Linked DNA regions of Homo sapiens: all the other regions are linked to region 6. The links are contacts of gene promoters, found by promoter capture Hi-C in blood cells and fetal thymus (Javierre and others, 2016). All regions are on one chromosome and are shown on one strand. Each heading gives the region's core, a stretch centred on a gene start or on the middle of the fragment in contact. The rest is flanking DNA. Distances are from core to core; before and after follow the strand shown.

What was found. The method cuts DNA at HindIII sites, captures the fragments that hold promoters and counts their contacts. A CHiCAGO score of 5 or more calls a contact.
Region 1: the fragment with the promoter of SPATA12 here is called in contact with the fragment with the promoter of PDE12 in region 6 in 2 of 17 cell types (endothelial precursors and M1 macrophages); the score reaches 5.7 in endothelial precursors.
Region 2: a contact is called between a fragment that was not itself captured here and the fragment with the promoter of PDE12 in region 6, in 1 of 17 cell types (endothelial precursors). The highest score is 5.7, in endothelial precursors.
Region 3: a contact is called between a fragment that was not itself captured here and the fragment with the promoter of PDE12 in region 6, in 2 of 17 cell types (M1 macrophages and naive CD4 T cells). The highest score is 5.7, in M1 macrophages.
Region 4: a contact is called between a fragment that was not itself captured here and the fragment with the promoter of PDE12 in region 6, in 1 of 17 cell types (neutrophils). The highest score is 5.5, in neutrophils.
Region 5: a fragment that was not itself captured here is called in contact with the fragment with the promoter of PDE12 in region 6 in 2 of 17 cell types (endothelial precursors and megakaryocytes); the score reaches 5.4 in endothelial precursors.
Region 7: a fragment that was not itself captured here is called in contact with the fragment with the promoter of PDE12 in region 6 in 1 of 17 cell types (M1 macrophages); the score reaches 5.5 in M1 macrophages.

What each region holds. Positions count from the first base shown.
Region 1 is chr3:57,059,262-57,062,687 of GRCh38, reverse strand. SPATA12 (spermatogenesis associated 12) reads right to left here and starts at 2,024. Exons shown (of 2, transcript NM_181727.2): 1 at 1,902-2,024. It also overlaps a transcript of ARHGEF3 not described here. The HindIII fragment of the contact is 10,199 bases long and covers 1-3,241 here.
Region 2 is chr3:57,088,067-57,091,335 of GRCh38, reverse strand. It overlaps IL17RD (interleukin 17 receptor D), which reads left to right. Exons shown (of 13, transcript NM_017563.5): 13 at 1-1,354. Among named protein-coding and RNA genes, the nearest start is that of SPATA12, 29 kb to the right of the region's middle. The HindIII fragment of the contact is 1,180 bases long and covers 988-2,167 here.
Region 3 is chr3:57,888,657-57,892,131 of GRCh38, reverse strand. SLMAP (sarcolemma associated protein) reads right to left here. Exons shown (of 25, transcript NM_001377540.1): 15 at 2,032-2,091. Among named protein-coding and RNA genes, the nearest start is that of FLNB, 120 kb to the left of the region's middle. The HindIII fragment of the contact is 170 bases long and covers 2,044-2,213 here.
Region 4 is chr3:57,866,325-57,869,953 of GRCh38, reverse strand. All of the region lies in intron 13 of SLMAP (sarcolemma associated protein), which reads right to left. Among named protein-coding and RNA genes, the nearest start is that of SLMAP, 110 kb to the right of the region's middle. The HindIII fragment of the contact is 6,509 bases long and covers 1-3,629 here.
Region 5 is chr3:57,157,910-57,161,436 of GRCh38, reverse strand. All of the region lies in intron 1 of IL17RD (interleukin 17 receptor D), which reads left to right. Among named protein-coding and RNA genes, the nearest start is that of IL17RD, 5.7 kb to the left of the region's middle. RefSeq lists enhancers at 1,149-1,832, 1,833-2,518. The HindIII fragment of the contact is 2,010 bases long and covers 1,138-3,147 here.
Region 6 is chr3:57,554,433-57,558,030 of GRCh38, reverse strand. PDE12 (phosphodiesterase 12) reads right to left here and starts at 1,757. Exons shown (of 3, transcript NM_177966.7): 1 at 344-1,757. The coding sequence starts at 1,651. It also overlaps a transcript of DNAH12 not described here. RefSeq lists enhancers at 824-993, 1,484-2,263. The HindIII fragment of the contact is 2,707 bases long and covers 913-3,598 here.
Region 7 is chr3:57,191,859-57,195,087 of GRCh38, reverse strand. No RefSeq gene overlaps it. Among named protein-coding and RNA genes, the nearest start is that of HESX1, 6.5 kb to the left of the region's middle. The HindIII fragment of the contact is 5,377 bases long and covers 1-3,229 here.

The DNA of each region.
Region 1 (3,426 bases), core at 775-3,274, 500 kb after region 6:
AGAAACAGCGAGTCCTGTCATTCCCACCAGATATTCCTGCTTGTTAAACAGCTACATAGTGTTTTGCTGAGTGGCTAGAGCAGCTTTATTTAACCTTGTTTTGTTCAGTACTACTGGGCAGCTTCCAATCTTTTGCTATTGTAGATTATGCAGCATCTGTGCTGGGCACTTGCCCTGCTTCCTTCCCTCTTCTCTGAAAGGCTTCCCCATGCTCCTGAGCACCCCCCGCCCCCGCCGCCGTGCTCCTGAGCCTAGCCTGAGCCCGAGTGGGGGCTGTGGTCCTGGCTGGGCCTATCATGGTTCCCCTCCCCTCGGCTGTGGTAGCCGGTCTGGAGCTAGACACAAGCCACCCTTGCCAGGCTGTGGGCTTCCTCAGGGTCATCCTAACCCACTCAGAAGTGGCAGAGAAGGTGCTTGAAGGCACTCACCCAGCGCTAGAGCAGTGAGGACAGGCCCAGAGTGTGGAGCTGCGAGGGGAGGGTTGGGCACATTGCCTTTGGATCTAGTCACATGACTGAGCTGCTCCAGGGATCTTCCTACAAATCCCCCTTCTCACCCATCTAGATGGAGTTGGATTTCTCACTGCTAGCAGTGAGTCTAGACAGATCCAATCCAGTGGAGCATCCCTGCCCCACTCTCTTTTTTTACTTGATCCTTAGTCCAGAGCAAGGAAAGATGTGGAAACCCTCCCAAAGGCATTATTCAGGGCAGAAAATGCTTGTAGGCAGAGCAGCACCTTGTTTTTGTCACAACCGGAGAAACAATTTAAATCTGAACCTATGCGGGCTCAGATACTGATGCTGCCATCTGAGAAGGAGGACCTCTCTCACCTCAGGTTCTTTGTCTGTAAAATGGGGATGAAAATAATTATACCACACCTCAGGACTAAATGAGTTAATAAAAATTCTTAGAGTGGTGAGTAACACAGGATGAGAGACTGCTCACTGAGAGTTAGCTGTGGTGGCTGCCAGAATCCTAAAAGTGTAACAGGAGTTAAACATAGAGGTATCATATAGTCCAGCAATTCCAAATCTGGGTATATACCCAAAGAAATGAAAGCAGAGATCCAAACAGATACTTGCATTCCCATGTTCCCAGCAGCGTTATTCACAATAGCCAAAAGGTAAAAATAATACAAATGTCTATTGACAGATGAATGGATAAACAAAATGTGGTATGTACATACAATGGAATATTATTTAGCCTTAAAAAGGAAGGAATTTCTGGTTGAGTGAGATGGCTCACACCTGTAATGCTGGCACTTTGGGAGGCCAAGATAGGAGGATCTCTTGAGCCCAGGAGTTTGAGGCTGCAGTGAGTTATGATCGTGCCACTGTACTCCTGCCTGGATGACAGGGCCAGACCCCATTGCAAAAAAAAAAATAATAATAAATAAAGGAATTTTTGACACATGCTACAACATGCTGATCCATGAAAGTATTATGCTACATGAGAAAAGTCAGTCACAAAAGGACACTTACAGGGGGTACCTGGAATAGCAAGTTTAGAGAGAGAAGTATTAATACAGTAGGGGCTGGGAGAGGGGCAGGTGCAGGAGGAGTTACCGCTGAATGGGTACACAGTTTCTGTTTAGAATGACAACAAAGTTCTGGAAATGGATAATGGTAAGAGTTGTACAATATGGTGAATGTGCTAGATGTCACTGAACTGTACACTTAAAAATGGTTAAAGTGGTATGTTTTATATTATATTTTACCACAATAAAAAAGAGTATAAGAGGAGTTGGACTCTCCTGGACTTTTTCTTTATAGATTGAACTTATGTCAAAATGTAGCACAGTGAAAAAACAGGCACAGGCCAAAAAAGAAGTGGTGGTGGTGTGTGCCCATGTGTGTGTGTGTGTTTCGGGGTGGGGGTGGGGCGGCAGGTAAACTACTCACAAGACACCAGAGGCTCCTTTTGAGGTCTGATACTGCAGGCTGGGATCTGACGCTGCAGGATCAGGAAGAGTGGGGGAGATGAGGGGAAGGTGAGCCTGCACAAAGAATTTTCTCAGTGACTGTGGGCAGGGCAGTCAGGACCCTGGGTCACATGGGCCCAGCCCGGGACCAGAGCCTTTGTGAGTCACAGCTCAACTCCCAGCAAACAAAGGGATATGCCAGGGAGGGGCTGAGTTGTGACTCAGAGGCTGCTGCTGCTGTGAGCTTCCTCCAGGAACCCCATCCCTTCCAGTCCCTGATTCTGACTCCTACTGTGGGGGTGGGGACAGGTGTACCCACTTCCTGGGCAGGTTCTTGGAAGGGCTCTCCTGCAGAACCTAGACTTTTTTGCAGCTCCTTTTTGATAACCCGAGTAGCAGCAGCTATACCATTTAAGTGCTTGCTGCATACGGGCCCTGGGCTAAGTTCCTTTTTTTTTTTTTTTTGAGACAGAATCTCAGCTCTGTCGCCCAGGCTGGAGTGCCGTGGCACAATCACGGCTCCCTGCAGCCTTGACCTCCCAGGCTCAAGAGATCCTCCCACAGGGACTGTAGGTACATGTCACACACCCAGCTAATTTTAAAATTTTTTATAGAGATGGGGTCTCGCTATGTTGTCCAGTCAGCTCTTGAACTCCTAGGCTCAAGTGATCCTCCCGCCTTGGCCTCCCAAAGTGCTGGGATTACAGGTGTGAGCCACCATGCCTTGTCCCTCACTTCATCTATTTATTTTTATTTTTATTTTTATTTTTGAGATAGAGTTTCACTCTTGTTGCCCAGGCTGGAGTGCAATGGCGTGATCTCCGCTGACTGCAACCTCTGCTTCCCAGGTTCAAGCGATTCTCCTGCCTCAGCCTCCCGAGTAGCTGGGATTACAGGCATGTGCCACCATGCCTGGCTACTTTTGTATTTTTAGTAGAGATGGGGTTTCTCCATGTTTGTCAGGCTGGTCTTGAACTCTGGACCTTAGGTGATCTGCCCAACTTGGCCTCCCAAAGTGCTGTGATTACAGGCGTGAGCCACCATACCCAGCCCCTCTTCGTCTTTTTAAAGCCTCATTGTCACCCCATCAGGCAGTCATTTCAGTCCTACTTTGCAGAAGAGGAAATGTGCTTATGGAGGGAAGCAACTTGCCTGAGGCTATGTGGGTGGCAGATAGCAGAGCCAGATTTGAACCTATCACTGATTAAGGAGCCTGGACTTGTAATCATGCTGCTCACCACCCTCCCTCCCCCCACCCCCAACTCATACACACACGGGGAAGAACAGACTCCAAAATGTGACTTATCTTTAGGCCAAGCTTGTCTAACATGTGGCCCAATACAAATTCATAAACTTTTAAAAAACATTATGAGTTTTTTTTTTAGTTCATCAGCTATTGTTAGTGTTAGTGTATTTTATGTGTGGCCCAAGACAATTCTTCTTCCAGTGTGTCCCAGAGAAGCCAAAAAATTGGACACCCTTGCTCTAGGCTTAAAGACAAGGCT
Region 2 (3,269 bases), core at 328-2,827, 470 kb after region 6:
ATGATAGTCATCTATCATAACTTGTGTTTGTTTTCCTCCTGAGATCAAACACTTGGTGCTTATTCCTGATGTATACTCTGAGACCAGCTCTTACCTTCTGAGTGGCAGCTACCCCTCCCTCCCAATTTTAGATCCTATTTTTACACATCTCTATAGATATCACCTTTATTTCATGACTCACAATATTAAATGGTACAGACTTCAGTTTAACCACTGGTGTGGTAACAGCAGTAGTTGCTAAGTACCACCTTCCCATTGCTGTTTGAGGGCTAATTTGCAAAGACATTTGAATCTCCCAGTGAAGATGTCTGGGGAATTTTGGCCAGTTGTCTTCCCTCTTGCCCTTTTGTTCTTTAAAATTCAGCTTGGACCATAGACACCTCCAGGATCTTGTTTATGTTCTGCTCTCAATTGACCAAGCACTGCGTTTTGCACAATCAGAAGTCTCACAAAAGCAAACAGTTATGACTGCATATCTGATGTTTATATCCTATAAAATTTCAGGAAGATTCAGAGTCAATCTTCTATTTGTACATGATGTAGACAAAATTAGCTGCTCCAATTGTTAGACAAAAAATTGCCATTGGATTACACTAATGTGCTCATCTGTTGTTTTAAAAGTTTGGTATCAGGCGGGGCACGGTGGCTCACGCCTGTAATCCCAGCATTTTGGGAGGCCAAGGTGGGCGGATCACCTGAGGTCCAGAGTTCAAGACCAGCCTGACCAACATGGTGAAACCCTGTCTCTACTAAAAATACAAAATTAATCAGGCGTGGTTGTGTGTGCCTGTAATCCCAGCTACTCGAGAGGCTGAGGCAGGAGAATCGCTTGAATCCGGGAGGCAGAGGTTGCAGTGAGCTGAGATCACGCCATTGCACTCTAGCCTGGGCAACAAGAGCGAAACTCCGTCTCAACAACAACAACAAAAAGTTTGGTATGTTTCTCTCAAGAAAAAAGCATGGTGAGTCCAGACAGCAGCAAAAGCTTTTGTGAAAACCAATTGTGTTCATCTAGATAGTAAGTAACTCCTATTTTTACTGTTAATTTTTTAAAAGAGAATTTTTCCCTGTGGAAACTCCCTGTTAGTACGTCCTAGGGGAGAAAGCCTGTGGAATATGGTGGTTATTGATGGCGTTGCCTTTGTTTCATCTTTGAGTTTGCCCTTTGTGGGATCTAGTGGGATAATGAGCACTGACAGAACTCTTAACAGCGTGCTGTATTTTTGACATTGAAAATGTTAATGACTTGATTTGTACATAACTCTGTAACTAGGTGAAAGTAGATCACAGCTGACATTTACAAAATGTTTTTGTACCTTAGAATTTCTGCATTAAATAAAATGTTTTGTTTTAAGGTTGTAGTGGCTCATTTTTCAGCACATCTTTCTTGTTTCCTGACTGTCTGGGGTTCCCAGCCCAGTTTTCAGAGGGCTCTGCCTCAGGACGAGGAGGCCAGGGGTGGCCAGTCTTCCTTGCCCTTTAGAGAACAGGACCCTGCTGCCCTAGACCTTCAGCTCGGCTCCACAGGCAATCAGTCGCCCATTACCCGTGTGGCATCAGGAGGCTTCCCTGTTGCAACAGGGTTACTTATGTCAGAAAGAAATTTGACTTCTCAGAACAAATGGACTTTCTTTTTAGAAATTTGAAAAAAGCCACTGAGATTTGGGGGCTGCACGCAAATTTTTTTTGTCACTCAGAAAAAGAGATGCCTGCTCAGTCTTCCATGGACATCCTCCCCTCCTGTGACCCCCATGCTCTGTGAGTTAACTTCTTGGTGTCCATCACCTTCAGGGTCAGGTCCCAGCTCTGCTGAATTTTTTTTTTTTTTTTTTAAAGAGGTAGGCTCTCCCTAATTTGCCCAGGCTGCTCTTGAGCTCCTGAGCTCAGGCGATCCTCCCGTCTCAGTCTCCCAAAGTGCTGGGACTACAGGTGTGAGCCACTATGCCTGGCCTCTGCTACTGTTGCTGTGCCCCAGTGACTGTCAGACTCTGCCCCTCAGCCTCTCACCCGTAAAGAGGTCCTACTTTAGAGGGCAGTGAATTAAACTGCATGGTGAATGTAAAGTGCCACCTGCGCATTCCTGGCTCATAGTCCATGCTCAGTAAATGACAGTGTCCACAGGAGAACAGTGAGGGTTAACAAATAGCAAGGACATAGAATACAAGCTTTTGACCATTGCCCGAGCAGGATATAGTCTAAGTTTGGGGTCTTGGGACCATAATAGATTTTAAAAACTGGATCTTCCTTATTTACTTGTTCCTTCTCATACTTCACTGGGATGTTAATGTGCTCAGGGCCTACAACCTACTCTGGGGAACCCAAGGAAAACAGAAGGAGTGGTAAAAAACAAAACCCCCTCAAAGAAAACAGCTCTGAGGGAAGCACTGTTGTTTCTGAGAGGAGGAAATTCTCACACATTCTTGCCTCCTGACCTTCGCATAGCCTTCGTTTCTCCTGGGTAGAGTCACCCAGGAGGCTCCTTGTCATTTCTCCCATTGATTTCCTTTTCCCCCACACTCTGTCAATTCTTTTTAGTTCCAGGAGTGCTAAGTGCTTTACACACATCATCTCATTCATCTTCACGGCTGCTCTGTGAGGTGGCCAATCGTACTGTTCCCATTATACAGATGAGGAAACTGAGGCTCAGAGAGGCTATAACTGACTTGTGATCCCATAGCTGGCTAGTGGCAGAGCCAGGATATGAGCTGAGGCAAACCCTACCTAGACTGCTCAGGTAACCCCTTGGTAAAGGTCAAGCCAGCCAGGTAGGGATGGACTCAAAAATGTGTGGTCAAAGGCAATAGAGAGCTTTCCCGTAAAATGAGTGGCAGAGAGGAAGTGATGATTGCCAACCTCTGAATGTCAGTAGGGCTGGTTCCTGCTCTTAGTGCTCTTCATGTTTTTTCTCACCATGACCCCCTATGGGGGGTACTATCAGCAGCCTCAATTTTGAGATTCTGATGTCTAGAAATTCTATAGCTTTGCCAAGGGCACAAACAAGAAATTGGCAGCACTGGAGTTGAAGTCTGATTGAAGCATCACCACTCCTGATCAATAGGCTGCTCTGTCCCTCAGTAACAGTTTAAGCGGAAGGAAGAATCTTGAGTGACTTGGTTCCTTTCTCTTGCAAATTCTGAGTGTAAATCTGGTTCAGAGTTGAAGCAAATGGATCTCGTTAGGCAGATACTGCAATACATGAATTTCTCTTTCCTTTTCTTTCATTAAAATAAAAGTTACAGCTGGGCTTGGCAGTGCGCACCTATAGACTC
Region 3 (3,475 bases), core at 879-3,378, 330 kb before region 6:
CTTTGCCTATTAACTGTGAAAGGTGCTAGTAAAATGTTCACTACTGATAGAAAAATCCCTGAGTATTTAAAACTTATATTTGTATTATTCTTAAAGAATATATTCTATTCATTTACATGGACTTATTTGCCATAATTTATTTAATAAATACCCTTATTAATGGACCCTAATGCTTTCCTCTTGTTGCTTTTAAACAACACTGAAATAAATATTCTTGCTCATTAGTCCAATTTGTTCTTTAAGATTAAAAACCCAGGCCGGACATGGTGGCTCACACCTGTAATCCCAGCACTTTGGGAGGCCGAGGCGGGTGGATCATCTGAGGTCAGGAGTTTGAGACCAGCCTGGTCAACATGGTGAAACCTCATTCTCTACTAAAAATACAAAATTAGCCAGGCATGGTGGCATGCGCCTATAATTCCAGTTACTCAGGAGGCTGAGGCAGGAGAATCACTTGAACCCAGAAGGTGGAGGTTGCAGTGAGCTGAGATTGTGCCACTGCACTCCAGCCTGGGCAACATGAGCGAAACTCCGTCTCAAGGAAAAAAAAAAAAGGGTTAAAAACCCAAAAGTGGAATTGTTGGATCAAAAGGCATGTTCTTTAAAACTTCCAATAAACAGTTTATAGCCAGGTTTAAAAGGAAATCATACAAAGATAAATATTTAAAGTGATGATATTCTAATTACCCTGATTTGATCTTTATACATTAAATGTATCAAACTATAAAACATATCCTGAAAATATGCACATTATGTATCAATAAGATAAAAACAATAAATTAAAAAGGGAAATCAGTAATGCACAAAACTTTTCCAATAATGATAAAACATAATTTCAAGAAAATATTTTCTAATTTAGAATGCATTAAATATAAGTGATAAGATAGCAAGATATTTTAATTAAAGAAGCATTTTTTTTTTTTTTCCTAAGGCTCTACTTCAAAGTGCTGGCTATTCAACCAACTAATCTGAATAGGTATTTGGATGGTGAGGTAAAAGCTATTTTAAGGTCTGTTCTCATCTCACTTTAATAAGGTGAAAAAAATTGCCATATGTACTAAAAATAGTTCACTGTTCTGAAACTCAATGCCTGTTTGCCAAAACAATATTAATGATGCATATTCTATGCATTTTTTCCCCAAATATGGCATCTGCCGTGCACAAAATTCAGAATGGAAACCACGAGATATTTGAAATAACACCATCCTCTTACATGGTTAAAAAAGTCAAATGAATCCAGTTACTTTAATAAAATAGAATGTACTAAAATTAAGTATCTCAAACTTTTGTAACTCAATGTTTTAATTGGCCAAAAGGACTGTGAATCTAGTTTTAAATTTTATACTGGTATAGTCTAATGAAAGTTCTACTATGATAAACACATGCCACCAAATTTATTTGCCTAATTTCCCTATGTATAAAAGTGACTTGACAATATGGTGCTTTAAAACTCACTTTTCTTCTCTGACAACTGTAACAGAATTAACACAATAAACTACTTTGGGCAATTACTGGACTACTCATAAAATATAAGAAGATTCTACATTCACAAAAGTCATTAATTTTGTTTAAATCAAACTGAGATGCCAAAAATTAAGGAAATATTAAACATCATAAGAGATTTTAAAGGTACTGTAACCCCCAAAATAGAAGTGCAAGCATGTTTCACTTAAGTTGTATCACAAACGACTTACATTGTGTTTGATTAAAATTTGAGATCAAAGCTGAAATTAATGCTGGGAATGACAGAGATTGCAACAAATCTTTAATACCTAAAGAAACCTATATCAAGTACTAACATTCAAAAAACCATAAATATACATCCACTTAAAAAGACACATTCCAGTTACGATACCCTTCTTAAAACAGAAGTCTGATTATTTTATATATTATCTGATACTGTTACTGGCTTGCTATTTTGTGAGCTATAAGAAGTAAACTGATGGTTAAAATACTATAACCTTGAAAATATACACTAACCTTCATTATCCAAAAGAACTGTCAAAAAACATAGAAAAACAGAAAACAAACCTTTTGAAAGCTTTGTTTCTTCTACCGCTTTGGTTAGATGCCCTTCGACGATCAGCTTCTCTGCCAAGGAAAATAAACGTTACCATCCAAGCCCAAACTGAGCAGCATTTCCCTGAGCTGGGCAGTGTAACACATTCCATGACCAAATTTAAAGATGATAACATTACTCCTATGACCAAGCTTGAATAAAAACTTGAATCTGGAAGGGGAACTAAGAGAACTGGAACTATGACGGAGCAATCACGTTAATGCAGAAAACTAGGGGCAGGCAGACAATTTGCCTTTTATTTTCACCTTATTTTAAAAGCCTAGATATTTTTATAAAAAGGGCTCAGAAGAAATAAAGCAATCCTCTTTAGATCAAGGCTATTAAGTTAAAATAAAAGATTTATGAAAAGGTATTTATTCAAATGAAGAAGTAATAAAAATTAAGTTATATCGATAGTTTACTGTTCTCTGCTGACATAATTCAGCAGAGATGCCTATATAATGTATTTCAGTAAATGAATCATTTTAGAAAAGCTATTCAAAGAAATAAAAAAATTTTGTTTTGTTTTATGGGGGATTTTCTGTAAATGTATAATGCTACTTTTTTATAATTTAAAGTCATATTTTCATATTCCACGTTTCATTGAAGAGGATATATCTATTCTGTGTCCCCTTATTTACTCCTGTATGTCAGTTGGTCTCCTTCAATTTATTCATTTGTAATATATGTGAAGAAAATTTTCTATTCTCTTGCTTTACAACCAACTGCAACTTGGTCTACATCCACCACTCAACCATTGAAACTGCTCCAATATCATTATAGCCTCTAGTCTCCCAATGCCCATGGCTCCTTTTCTTAATTTTCATTTCTCATAGGCTCTTTGCAGTATGTGGCACTTTGTCTCTGACTTTTTAAAATCAGAAAGAGGGGCCGTGCGCAGTGGCTCACGCCTGTAATCCCAGCACTTTGGGAGGCCAAGGCGGGTGGATCACGAGGTCAGGAGACAGAGACCATCCTGGCTAACATGATGAAACCCTGTCTCTACTGGAAACACAAAAAATTAGCTGGGCATGGTGGCGGGTGCCTGTAGTCCCAGCTACTCGGGAGGCTGAGGCAGGAGAATGGTGTGAACCCAGGAGGCGGAGCTTGCAGTGAGCAGAGATGGCGCCACTGTATGACAGAGCGAGATTCCATCTCAAAAAAAAACAGAAAAAAAGAAAAAAAAACAGAAAGTAACAGATTTTGATTAAGATGTATAATGTAAGCTGTCCTACCTGTCCTCTGTCCTACTTCACTCCATTCCTAAAATTCACTTCCTACAACTTTTAGCCATTTCTTCTGATACTTACATTTATATTTCTAAATAATACATTGATTTTATTTTTCCATTTTAGATATTTATTGAGAATCTATTTTACACGGTTAAATTTTGCCATTTTCTACTACCATCCTCAA
Region 4 (3,629 bases), core at 17-2,516, 310 kb before region 6:
ATACATTTTATTTATATAAATGAGTTTCCTATGGATTTTTATTTATATACCTGTGTTATCTAATACTATAGCCATTAGCTACTGTAGTTACTAAACCCTTCAAATGTGGCTAGCTCTAATTGAGATGTCCTAAGCATAAAACAAATGTACAATGATTTCAATGAATTAGTAAGAAAACAGTGATATGAAATTTTATGAATAATTTATTAATCATTTTAATATTTATTAATATTGAAATATTTTGGATGCTGTAGGCAAAATAGATCATTAGAATTTGTTTTGTTTATATATATTATATATATATATATATATATATATATATAATAGAGATGGGATCTTGCTATGTTGTCTAGGATCAAGTGCAGTAGTTATTCACAGGTGTGATTGTAGTGCACTACAACCTCAAACTCCTGGCCTCAAGGGATCCTCCTACCTTAGCCTCCCAAGTAACTGGGACAACAGGCATGTACCACTGCACCCAGCTTTTTATATTTTTAATGTGTGTGGTGGTTAATACTGAGTGTCAACTTGAATGGATTAAAGGATACAAAGTATTAATCCTGGGTGTGTCTGTGAGGTTGTTGCCAAAGGAGATTAACATTTGAGTCAGTAGGCTGGGAAAGGCAGACCTACCCTTAATCTGGGTGGGCACAACCTAATCAGCTGCCAGTGCAGCTAGAATATAAGCAGTCAGAAAAATGTGAAAAGAGAGACTGGCCTAGCCTCCCAGCCTACATCTTTCTCCTGTGCTGGATGCTTCCTGTCCTCGAACATCAGACTCCAAGTTCTTCAGTTTTGGAACTCAGACTGGCTCTCCTTGCTCCTCAGCTTGCAGATGGCCTATGTGGGACCTTGTGATTGTGTGAGTTAATACTTAATAAACTCCCCTTTATATATATAATATATATAATATATATTATATATATAATACACATATAATATATATTATATATAATACACATATATAATATATATTATATATAATACACACATATATTATATATAATACACACATATAACATATATTATATTATATATAATACACACATATATAATATATATAATATATATTATATATAATACACACATATATAATATATATTTTTATATATAATACACATATATATATTTTATATATATATATATATATATATATATTCCATTAGTTCTGTCCCTCTAGAGAACCCTGACTAATACAATGTGGCTGCCAGAATTTTTTTAAATTAAGAGACAGGGTCTTACTCTGTTGTCCAGGCTGGAGTACAGTGGCACAATCATAGTTCATTGCAACCTTGAATTTCTGGGCTCAAGGGATCCTCCCTCCTCAGCCTCCCAACTACCTAGGACCACAGGTGTGTACTACCACACTTGGCTAATTTTTAAATTTTGTGTAGAGACAGAAGTCTCACTATGTTGCCCAGGCTGGTCTCAAACTAATGGCCTCAAGCAGTCTTCCCTGCTTAGCCTCCCAAAGTGCTGGGATTACAGGCACATGCCACCACACCTCACTAATTTAAAAAAAAAATTTTTTTTTTCTTTTTAGAGATGGGGTCTCACTATGTTGCCCAGGCTGGTTTCGAGCTTCTGGGCTCAAACAATCCTCCCTTGCTGGGATTACAGGAGCAAGCTACTTTGCCCAGCAGAAAATTTAAAATTATGTATGTGGCTCTCATTATGTTTATTTTTTATTTTTTTGAGATGGGGTCTCACTCTGTCACCCAGGCTGAGTACAGTGGTGTGATCATGACTCACTGCAGCCTTGACCTCCTGGGATCAAGTGATTCTCCCATCTAGCCTCCTGAGGAGCTGGGTCTACAGGTGCACACCACTATGCCCAGCTAATTTTTAATTTTTTTATAGAGATGGGTTCTCACTATGTTGCTCGGGCTGGTCTTGAACTCCTGGACACAAGCAATCCTTCCACCTTGGCCTCCCAAAGTGCTGGGATTATAGGTGTGAGCCACCACACCCAGCCTTATGTTTATTTCGGACAACACTGTCCTTTACTCTCTAAGATACATTCAGCTTATGCTTATTAGATAAGACACACAAAAAATTTACAGTACAAAACCTGTGCTTTTAGTAGCTACATTATATTTAATTTTTAAAATGGGATTCACTGAAAGTATTAGTATTATTAATTTTAACATCTTCAGATATTTAAAAATATTCTCTTACAACTATATTTGGCTCTCTACTATTTAAAGAATAATTTAGTTAAAATTATATAATATGGGTATGGACATTGGTAATACTGGGATACTTGAAAATTGGTTCATTATTATAAGTGATTTGGAATGGAATTAAGTGACGCATCTTATTCCAAAGTCCACCCTTAACTAAGTTTTCGTGTACATCTAGAAATTTATTGCTTAGTTTCTTTTAAAATATTCTATTAGTCACTATCATACCGTAACTCAATATATCACCACCAAAAAAGCAAGCACACAAATAAGGAAAAAATAATTATGGCAAGGAGTTACCTTTAAGTATCTAAAATATTTATTCTTAAAATCAAGGAGTCTTTAACAATTATATTAATACAATATGAAAACAGTCTACTATTATTTTCATCTGAACCAACTGGAACTGGAAAAAAATGAATCAGTAATTTTACAACTCTAAATAGTATAAAGATGGTTCCATGTACATAAAACGATTCTCTTAACTGAAGGAATGAATAGCAGGTTCCCAGCTTGGGTTAATACTAACATTATTAATATAAAATCAAGAGGGTGATGACTGATTGACTGTTTTGTTTTGTTTTGTTTTTTGAGACAAGAGTCTCACTCTGTTGCCCAGGTTGGGGTGCAGTGGCACGATCTGGGCTCATTGCAACCTCTGCCTCCCAGGTTCAAGTGATCCTCCTGCCTCAGCCTCCTAGAGTAGCTGGGATTACAGTAGCGTGCCACCACGCCCAGCTAATTTTTGTATTTTTTGTAGAGACAGGGTTTCACAAAGTTGTCCAGACCTTGGTGGTCTTCAACTACTGACCTCAAGTGATCCACCCGCCTTGGCCTCCCAAAGTGCTGGGATTACAGGTGTGAGCCACTGCCCCGGACATGATTTTTTTTTTTTTGAGACAGGGTCTCACTCCCATCGCCTGCAGTGGCATGATCTCAGTTCACTGCAGCCTCGACCTCCTGGGCTCAAGTGATCCTCCCACCTCAGCCTCCTGAGTAGCTGGGATTACAGGTGTGTGGCCACCATGCGTGGCTAATTTTTGTATTTTTTGTAGAGATAAAGTTTCACCATGATGCTCAGGCTGGTCTGAAACTCCTGAGCTCAAGCGATCTGCTTGATCGCAATGAATATAAACTACACCTTTAAAAATTCTCAAATTTAAATTCCATCAAATTGGAATTTTAAAAAGTCAATGCATTTTACAAAACATACGTAGAATAGTCAAACAGCAATGATTAATGAACATTTTTCTTGAGAGTTTCAAAATTCATTACATATGCAAATAAGGTTTTGACCTTGCAGCTAACATACACACAATTACCTGAGCCTATACTGCCAGCTCTTGATTAAAACCTGACCAAACAAAACCAAACCAAAAAAGAACCAAAAAACCCACCTCCTAACTCTACCAGTTTGATTGCTGCCCAAGAACTATTATGATATCC
Region 5 (3,527 bases), core at 893-3,392, 400 kb after region 6:
TAGGAAGGAATAGGGTGGTACTTGGAAAAGAGAAGTTCCAGCTGGTTAAAATTTAGGTTCCTGATAAAAGTCCAATCCAAGAATTATCCTTGGCTGTGGGCCCAGACATGTTTATTTGATTCTGAATTGGATGCATTTTCATTCACTTGCAGCTCATGGCTCCTAAGCCCACATCTGGTCTGCCTATCGTATGGCCATGTTGTCCATGTTACAGATGCTCTTGTGTCTGTTACAGAATTCTTGGTTAAAAAATTACTCAGTCCTGGTTGATACATTTTTTAGAGAGACGTTTTTATAAGCAGTGCAAAGCTTTCTTCCAGCCTGTTTTGCCTAGTTAATTGGGAACTCTTCTGGCCCATGTCCATCTTTCTTGAGCAGCCCTCCCTTCTCTCCCCAACCTCAGCCATCCACCCAACCCCAAGCCCCTGCAGTGCCTGGGGCATTGTGCTAGTTATTAACTTGGGCATATAGCTCCGTGACCAGGAGACCAGCAGTTAACTTTTTCTCCAAGTGACACCCTGGGCCTTCCAGTATCAGAATTGCCTCAGGAGCTTGTTAAAATGCAGATTGAAAGCTAATGGGATCAGAGTGAGAGTGAGGTGGAGCCCAGGAATTGGCATTTTAACAAATTCTTTTGAGGATACGCATGCTGTAACCAGGATGAGACCTATTGTTTTAGGGGACAGGGGTCCCACAATCCAAAGAAGGGGAGAACACACATTCTAAACATTTAAAATCAGAGTTTGGCTTTAAATTATGTCACTGGCCTTAGAGAAGAATGTGAAGACTTTCTCAGAGCCCTGACCGATAAAAGGGGTCAGGCTGGGTGGGGAGTGTGAGGATGGGAGGAGCAGGGAAGCGGGGCGGGGGAGAAGCTAGTTTGGATGGGTGCCTCTGGCCTGGGGCAGATGAGGAGGCCTGGAGTGAAGAGGACTTGACACTTCCCCTGAGTTCCTCCCTAGAACAGCTGGGTTTGTCTGAAAACAGTCTCAGGAAGGAGTAGCACAGGATCCAAATCAGATTCTCAGCAGTTCAAATCTTACAACTTCCCAACAAAGGAAAGAACTGCTAGTGCTTTTAAGTATTTTTCATGCTTCATTTGGCCTAAAACATGTTTTTTTTTTCTTTTTTAAAGCTTTCAAGGCTTTTTCTTCCTCTGTCCCTGAACTTTTTATATACTGTGCCCCAGCAGGTGTCTGCTCCTGCTGGGGCTACCCCATCAACAATTTTATTGTCCTCCTTCATTCCCCGCTGCCTCTTTTTTTGAGACGGAGTTTCGCTCTGGAGCCCAGGCTGGAGTGCATTGGCATGATCTCAGCTCACTGCAATCTCCGCCTCCCAGGTTTAAGCGATTCTCCTGCCTCAGCCTCCCGAGTAGTTGGGATTACAGGCGTCCACCACCACACCCAGCTAATTTTTGTATTTTTAGTAGAGACAGGGTTTCACCATGTTGGCCAGGCTGGTCTCGAACTCCTGATCTCAGATGATCTGTCCACCTTGGCCTCCCAAAGTGCTGGGATTACAGGCGTGAGCCACCGTGCCTGGCCCCCCACTGCCTCTTCAGCCTGCTTCTGATGGATGGGTTTTTAGGCTTCTAGAACTTGAGCCTCCACCCTTGATTTGTAAGAATGTGGGGTGAGGAGAGGGCTCAGCTATCAGGGAGCTTGACAGGTTGAGAGGTGCAGTGGCCTTAGAGCAGACCTCTCTCTGGCCACCCTGCCCTGGCAGCCAGACCTTTTCCATTTCCCATCTACTCCCAAATTTGGAGAGCTCCTGCCCTCAGTCAGCCGGGGGGCTGTCTGTGCTGGAGCTACAGGCCCCATCTCCAGCCAGCCAGACTTGCCCAGCCAGTGGGAGGCATTGTCCTCCTGGGCAGTGTTTGTCTTGGCTGCTTGGATGTTCTGAATGGGCCTGACACACGATTAGGTGACTGATGGCCTCCGAAACACATTGTCTCCTCCGGGGCCCACAGCCTTTGAAGCTCTTCCCGGTGGGAAGTAAAGAGACTATTTGCTCTATTAAAATGCCTTGGTATTTCCTCTGTTTAACCACAGGCCACTTCCCCTCTGCCACTCTAAACCCGGCAGGGCCACCGGCTGATTGAAAAGACACAAGCCCTCAAGTGATCACATCCTATTGAAACAGATAGTCTTACTGCAGATTAAAGCTAGGGCCAGTCTTGAAGAAACAAATCCAAGGGGGGAATCTTTGAGATGGCCCATTATCTTGCTCAGAATTTAGTCTGTTGAACAGAATTCACACTTGAAGTCCTGAGTGCATAAATGTAAATGTGTCTTTAAAAAAAAAAAAAAAGAAGAGATATCGACATTGTAAATTAAGTCAGTGTGTGTTTTATCTATATATGGCAGGTTAAAGCAATCCAATCAACAATTTCTCATTGTGTGAGTTGGAAACCCTTTGGTGTCTGGGAAGGGCATGTTGTCTGTTCATAGAAAACCACACCCTGCTGCTTTCTCTATTTGCAGATTCTACCTGTTCAGTCATATGCTGAAAAGTCCAAGTAAGAAAGAAGTCTGTAGCTTAAATAATACCAAGAATATCTCTGGGGAGACTCCTTCATCCTTTCCCAAACAATATATTAAAAGAAGGCTTTTAATTAATAACACCAGGCAGGAAACTAAAAATTGAACAATTTAAAAAATTACCTACATAACAAAAACTCCATTTGTACCATGTTTTTGTGAAGTGGCCTAAAAAACGAATAACTAGTTTCTAATAGAGACTGTTAACATTGATGTTTGCAACTCCATTGTTCAAAGTATCCATGATAAAAATGGATTCCCTTTTCTTTGGTTCCTTGTTTGGAAATGTTGGGGGAAGGTGGATGTAGCTAATTAAGGCTACAACATTTAAAGGGGGGGACTTAATAGGTACCAGCTGTCCTCAACAAATCACTGGGTGGACGACAAAATAAAGATGTGATGTGAACACACATGTAATTCTCTTCTAAAACGGAAATGGGCTCATAAATTTTCTGATTTAATAGTGTAAATGAAAACTACCTCTACTGTGCTTATTTAAGAAGCATTCATTTTATGGTAAAACTAATGCTAAAATGTCTTATTTGCATATGGCTGGTACCTTAAGACTTGAAAGGGCAGTAGATGGCAAGTATTATTGGAAGCTTAGTAAATTGTAATTTTATTGTACCTTTCTTCATTCCATACCTGATCTAATAGACGTTAATCATGAGGCTTTTCATTAAAACTACTACATGGTAGGGAAGCATGCTTGAACGTACCAGAAAAGCCATATAAAATTCAAGTATCAACTTTGAAAACGGAATGGAAATTGGTAGCATTAATTAAAATGTTTGGATGGATATTTACATTTCACACATTAAATGAATACTTCATATGAATCCTTTTGAAATCATGAGGGATTAGGCCTTAAATACAACTTTTTTTCAGATGTAAAAAGTACTTTATTGCCTTCAAAACTAGGAGTTTTTCCAAGTGTTCTGTTTGGTCATTTTTGTAGATCTTTTCCCCCCATTGAATAGTAAC
Region 6 (3,598 bases), core at 508-3,007:
TACTTTAAAATGTGCCAGAACAGTGCTTGGCAAGTAGTAAAAAACATTAGCTACTATTGTTCTTGCATTTAGCGTGTGTCCCTCTCGCTAGATTGTAAGCACTGTAAAAGTCCCTGCTAGTCTTGTTCAAGGCAACCTGCAGTATGGCAGGCACACCAGAGGTGTTCAAAAAATATCTGCTGAATGAATGAAGAGTAAACTTTGTGCTGAAGATACAAGGGCAAACACACCTTTCAACAATATCTGGATACTTTCATCGCACTTTTAACCCCCACCTCATTCCTCGCCTTCCTGGCCCCTAAAAGTGGGACAGTATGTGAAGAGACGGGCGGAACTACTTTACCTGAAGAACAGAAGATCTCTGGAGCACCTTCTCCTGCGCTGATGGGTACAAAACTAGTTTCTCCAGCAGTTCTTTGTGAAGTGGGTCGGACTCGAGGGCTTCGTAGAATGAAATGTCATGCTGGCTAAGAAGGCTGAACTTAGACTTTCGGTAGAAAGTGGCCAGGCCTTCGTGCTGCTTGATTCGAAACACCCCCTCGAGCCCGAAGGCCTCTAGGGCGGGTACCAAGCTGTCAGAAAACACTGCGCGGTCAACCTCCTGCAAACAGATGACATCGGCGTTGTAGCCGGTGAGTTCCTTCTGGATAAGGTTCTGGCGGTAGTCGAGCTCCAGGGCGTAGGGGGCACAGTATGGGTACAGAACCGTTCGCGAGAACTCAGTCTGCGCGTACGTGTCTGCCAGGATGTTGTAAGAGACAGTGCGGATGAGAGCGTCCTCAGTCACCTTCTTCGTGTAGAGATGCCGGTGGTCAAAAGTGCAGGTGCCAGGCCCAGCCTCTACCACACACACACTTTCCAACTCCCGGCTGTGCCCAAAGCGCTGCCCATCGCCTGGGGTGCAGTGAAGCTTGAGCCTTAGCCCGATGTCGGCATTGGACGGGGTGTAGACACGCTCCTCCACATCAGTCTCAGTCCAAGAAGAAGAAGGTGAGGAGGGAGACAATGACGAGGGGACACCGACCTCGGGCTCCGCCGCTCCGGGCTTGGCTTCCTTATACCAGCGGAAAAGGGAGCTGGCGGGATCCCCAAATTCGAGGCTGAGTTTGGGGCACACAGGGAACCCGGCCATGATGTAGCGCGGCAACTGCAGTTCGGTGAAGGCGGGCGGGTTGCGCTCCACCTTGTACTTAACATCGCCGATCTGCAGCACCGCGCCGTCTTGCCAGGCATCCACGTTGAGCACGTCCTCAGCCACTGCCTCTTCCCGGTAGTACAGCTTCACCACGGGCTCGCAGAACACAGCCGGCTCAGGCCCCGGCCCTGAACAGGCCGCACCGCCGCTAGCATTCGGCCGGCTCTTCCTGCTCTTCTTGGCGGCGGCCGCCTTAGCGTGACCCTTTAGGGCATTGGTAGCGATGCGGCTGAGGACTCGACCCAGCGGCTCGCTCTGGTCGCGCTGCATGTTCTTGTGGCTACCATCAGCCAAAGCGAATGACAGGCTCAGCTTGGGTTCCGAAGGTACGCAGCGCACTACAGCGCGCTCCATCGCTCCCGCCGCTGTCTGGCTCCCCGCTTCAGCCCGGCTCAGCTTCTCCACCGCCGTCCGGATCACCCGAAGCGCGGCGCGGGCGCCTGGGAGCCTCCACATGAACCTGGTGGCCTAGCGGTCGACAAGACCCGCGGCCGATCAGCGGCCTACTGTCAGGTGGAGCTGAGGAGCCGAGGCCGCCGGCTTTGACTCATTCAGATCTCGCGACTTCCGGCTAGCGAAGAGAGGGAATGAAGTGCTTCCGACTCGCACTTTCGCCTAGCGCGTGGGCACGCATGTCTGTAATACTCTGAAGATTAATTTTTACCTACACGATAGGTCAGAATTATAGGGAAGTGAAGAAAATATAAAGGTGTCAGAGGAAAATACTAGATTCCACGGTTTTGTCGAAAGTGCATGCTGGTGACGGGAGGGCATGCCCTCCAAGCCGGAAGTGGATAGGGTGGTGTCACGTGTTCCGCTTCGTTGGAGGAGGTGGACACCTGTCTTGGAATCTTGGCTGACCAGCTCTCCTCCCTGCGCCCGGGACTGGACTGCGCTAGGACGTGGAGGCCTCCACCCGGATTGCGAGCTTTACTCGCAGTGTGGAAGGTGTTGCCCATTTCATCTCCACAGCTTTGCCGACCCTGATCGCTCGTTTCGGTGGCCTGGTGGGTTCACCCCAGGCTGAGCCAGCGCCTACGCACCTCTGAGCAGAGCCTTTGTGGTAGTTAACAACGAACGATATACAATAACTCCGTTTAGTGAGCGCAGACTATGCGAGAAACGCTACACACACTATCTTATTTAAGCCTCATAGTTCTTATGAGGTAGGTCTCTTTATCCATCGCTTTACAGATGCAGAGTCCCGAGATATTACCTGCTCAGGGTCACACAACTATTAATTGGCAGAAAGAAATAGTACTGACAAACTGCGGAAGGCTGTTTGTTATTTTTTATTAGAGACAGGTTGTCACTTTGACGCCCAAGCTGGAGTGCAGTGGCCTGATCATAGCTCACTGCCCCCTCGAACTCCAGGGCTCGTGCGATCCTCCCGCCTAACCCTCTCAAGTACAAACAGGCAAGAGCCACCCAGTGTTTATTTTTAGTTAGTAAATAGGAAGACTCTATTTAGTTACTACATTTAACAAATAAAATTACAGGATCTCAGTTAAATTCAATTTCAGATAAGGAATAATAATGGGGCATATATTAAGAAATAGTTGTTTATCTGTTTATTTTATTTTTTTATTTTTTAGGTAGGGCCTTGCTCTTTCACCCAAGCTGGAGTGCAGCTGTGCGATCTTGGCTTACTGCAACTTCGGCTTCCAGAGTTCAAGCGATTCTCGTGCCTCAGCCTCCCAAGTAGCTGGGACTACAGGCACACACCACCACGCCCAGCTAATTTTTGTATTTTAGTAGAGAAGGGCTTCACCATGTTTCCTGGGCTGGTCGCGAACTCCTGGCCTCAAGCAAGCCCCCCGCCTTACCCTCCCAAAATTCTGGGATAACAAGTGAAAACCACCTCCCCTGGCCTAAGGAATCGTGCACTTTATTGCTATTTCTTTTAAAGGTCTTAAAGACGCCGGGCCCAGTGGCTCACGTCTGTAATCCCAGCACTTTGGGAGGCTGAGGCGGGTGGATCGCCTAAGGTCAGGAGTTCGAGACCAGCCTGGCCAACATAGTGAAACCCCGTCTCTACTAAAAATACAAAAAATTAGCTGGGCATGGTGGCGCACACCTGTAATCCCAGCTACTAGGGAGGCTGAGGCAGGAGAATCGCTTGAACCTGGGAGATGGAGGTCATAGTGAGTTGAGATCATGCCATTGCACTCCAGCCTGGGCAACAAGAGTGAAACTCCGTCTCAAAACAAAACAAAAAAAGGTCTTGAAGAACGAATGAATTGCTTTACCTGTAGACCAGAAAGAGGTCCAGTGTGATGAGTAAGGTGAGACCAGGGGAGAGTAGCAGATAAGAAAGATATGCATCCACCAAATTGTGTAGTGCATTCTAAGCCATAGTATGAAGTTCTGGATTTCTTCTAAGAGGGCCATTAGAGTTGTTTT
Region 7 (3,229 bases), core at 301-2,800, 360 kb after region 6:
ATCAAGCAAAATGAAAATGGAAAGGAAAACCCGAGATAGAATTATCTTTCCCTCAAAACACGTAGGCTCTAATCCACAGCTTATCTCTGTTCCTGGTAATTCTAGGCCTTTTGTCTCCATTAATGCTCAAGACAAGGTGAACAGTAGTAACAAATCAAGCTAATGCAGTCAGGCTAATACCTGGAGCGTCTCTATTATCTGACAACTGCCTAAATAAGGTTATTTGGTCTCCTGTAATGGCATTTGTCTTTTGTGAAGCCAGCCAGACAAAGCCCATCACTAAAGAGTGCTGCTGGAAACAATGGCTGTGTGTGCTGGTGGTCAACTTTTGAGTTAATCAGTGTTCATAGCCGCTTTCACCTCCTGCATCTTATCACACATCACACGAATGGCATAAATCTCCCATTACCAAACCCAGCACAGAGCATCAACCTGGGCCTTGTTCCTCCCAGCAGAGAGCTGGGAACTGCTCAATTTTCTCAATATGGAACTCAACTCACATTCTGACAAAGGGTGACTTGCTATCTCCATTTCACTGAGCCCCATAGGAATAAAACCCCCTCCAAAGTTAGTCTTTGGATACCTTTCATGGTCATTTTGACTGTTCTGACTCCTGTTGGAACATCAGTCCACAGCACAAGGCAGCTCCTGGTGGCTCTCAACACTCTACACCCCATTAGACTCACTTCTTCTGCCTATGCTTTAATCTTGGATTTCACAGCCTCCAGAATTGTGAGAAATAAATTTCTGTTGTATATAAGCTGCCCAGTCTGTGGCATTTTTGTTATAGAAGCCCAAATGGACTAAGTGTCCACCATGAGCTATGCAATATGGTTCTTCACATGAATATTCCCATTTAATTTTCACAGTCACTCTGCAAAGTGAATATAGGCAATCCACTTTACAAATAAGAAAACCTAGCATCAGATATTTTTATTATGATGATGATTCTTTTTTTTGAGATGGAGTCTTACTCTGTTGCCCTGGCTGGAGTGCAGCGGCATGATCTCGGCTCACTGCAACCTCCACCCGCTGGGTTCAAGCGATTCTCCTGCCTCAGCCTCCCAAGTACCTGGAACTACAGGCGTGCGCTACCATACCCAGCTAATTTTTGTAGTTTTAGTAGAGACAGGGTTTCTCCATGTTGGCCAAGCTGGTCTCAAACTCCTGACCTCAAGAGATCTGCCTACCGCAGCCTACCAAAGTGCTGGGATTACAGGCATGAGCCACCACGCCGGGCCTTTATTATGATTATTATTACCCCATTTTACAGATGAGCTGATTGAAGGACACAGATTAAATGACTTGATCATGGCCACACAGCTGAAGCAGCTCAGCCAGAATTCAGACCAAGTTCTGCCTGACTCCAGAGTTGCCTCTTCCTCTTAAGCCTTCCAGTAGATGGAGTTACTGGCTGTGATGCTAATAGCTAGAAACATGTACTACATTTTTCTTTTCTTCCTCCCTTTCTTCCTTCCTTCCACTTTTTTTTTTTGGCAGGGTTGGGTGGGAGTAGGGGGATGGGATTAAAAGTCTGAGTGTTTGATACCTAAAGTAATCAATAATTACTTAAGTCCCAATAATTTTTTGGAAATAATATTTTCTCTATATATAAATGGCATTTTGTCTAGATAATATGTACATCCTTACCTGTATAAATATTAAGCCTCATTAAGATTTTTTTTTTTTTGTATTTTAAACCTTATTAAGATGTAACAACAATCACTAGATTTAAGTCCTTTTTCCCTGAAATTGCCATCAGAAATTTGTGGAGGCCAGGCATGGTGGCTCACACCTGTAATCTCAGCACTTTGGGAGGCCAAGGCAGGATGATCGCTTGAGGCCAGAAGTTCAAGATCAGCCTGGGCAACATAGTGAGACCGAGGTCTACAAAAAATTAAAAAATTAGCCAGCCATGGTGGTTCACACCTGTAATCCCAGTACTTTGGGAGGCTAAGATGGGCAGATCACTTGAGGTCAGGAGTTTGAGACCAGCCTGGCCAACATGGTGAAACCCCGTGTCTACTAAAAATAGAAAAACTAGCTGGGCATGGTGGCAGGTGCCTGTAATCCCAGCTACTTGGGAGGCTGAGGCAGGAGAATCGCTTGAACCCATGAGGCAGAGGTTGCAGTGACCCAAGACCACCCCCCTGTACTCCAGCCTGGGCAACAGAGCGAGACTCTGTCTCAAAAAAATAAATAAATAAGCTAGGCATGGTGATGTGCACCTGCGGTCCCAGCTACTCAGGAAGCTGAGGTGGGAGGATTGCTTGAACTCAAAAGGTTGAGGCTGCAGTGAGCCATGATCATGTCACTGCACTCCAGCCTGGGTGACAGAGTGAAACCCTTTCTCAAAAAAAAAAAAAAAAAAAAAAATTTAGTAAAGATCTCAAATCAGCAATCTAACCTTTTACCTTAAGAACAACAAAAAAGAGAGCATAATAAATTCAGAATAATCAGAAGACAAAGATCAGAAAAACCATGGAGAAAAGTCAATGAAACCAAAAACTGATGCTTTACAAATCTTAATAAAATTAATAAACCTTTAGCCAGACTAACAAAGAAAAAAAGGAGAAGATACAAGTCACTGACATTAGGAATGAAAGAGGGGCTATAACTACAGACCACATCAACATTAAAAGAAGAATAAGATAATACTATGAACAACTCTATGCGCACATTTGATAGCTCAGAAGAAATAGATCAAATCTACAAACTACTAAAATCCACCCAAGAAGAAACAAATAACTATAACAGTTCTATACTTATTAAAGAAATGTGAAATAATAATTTTATACCTCTGAAAAGGTAAACTCCAGGCCCAGATGGTTTCACTGGCAAATTCTATCTAACATTGAAAGAGGAAGTAACATCAATTCTACACAATCTCTTTCAGAAGATACAAGAAGAAGATCACTTCTCTACTCATTTTATGAGACTTATATTACCCCGATACTAAATTAAAGACAGTAAAAGAAGGGAAGAAAAAAGCCCAAGTTCACTATCCCTCATTAACGAAGATGCAAAAATCCTCAACAAAATATTAGTAAATAAAATCCAGCAATACAAAAAAGAATAACACAGTATCACCAAGTGGGATTTACTTAGGGGATGACAAGCCTGGTTTAATATTTGAAAATCAATTAATGTTATCTACCATATTAATAGACTAAAGATGATAAATCACATTATTATACCAACTGACATTGAAAAGCATTCAATATCCATT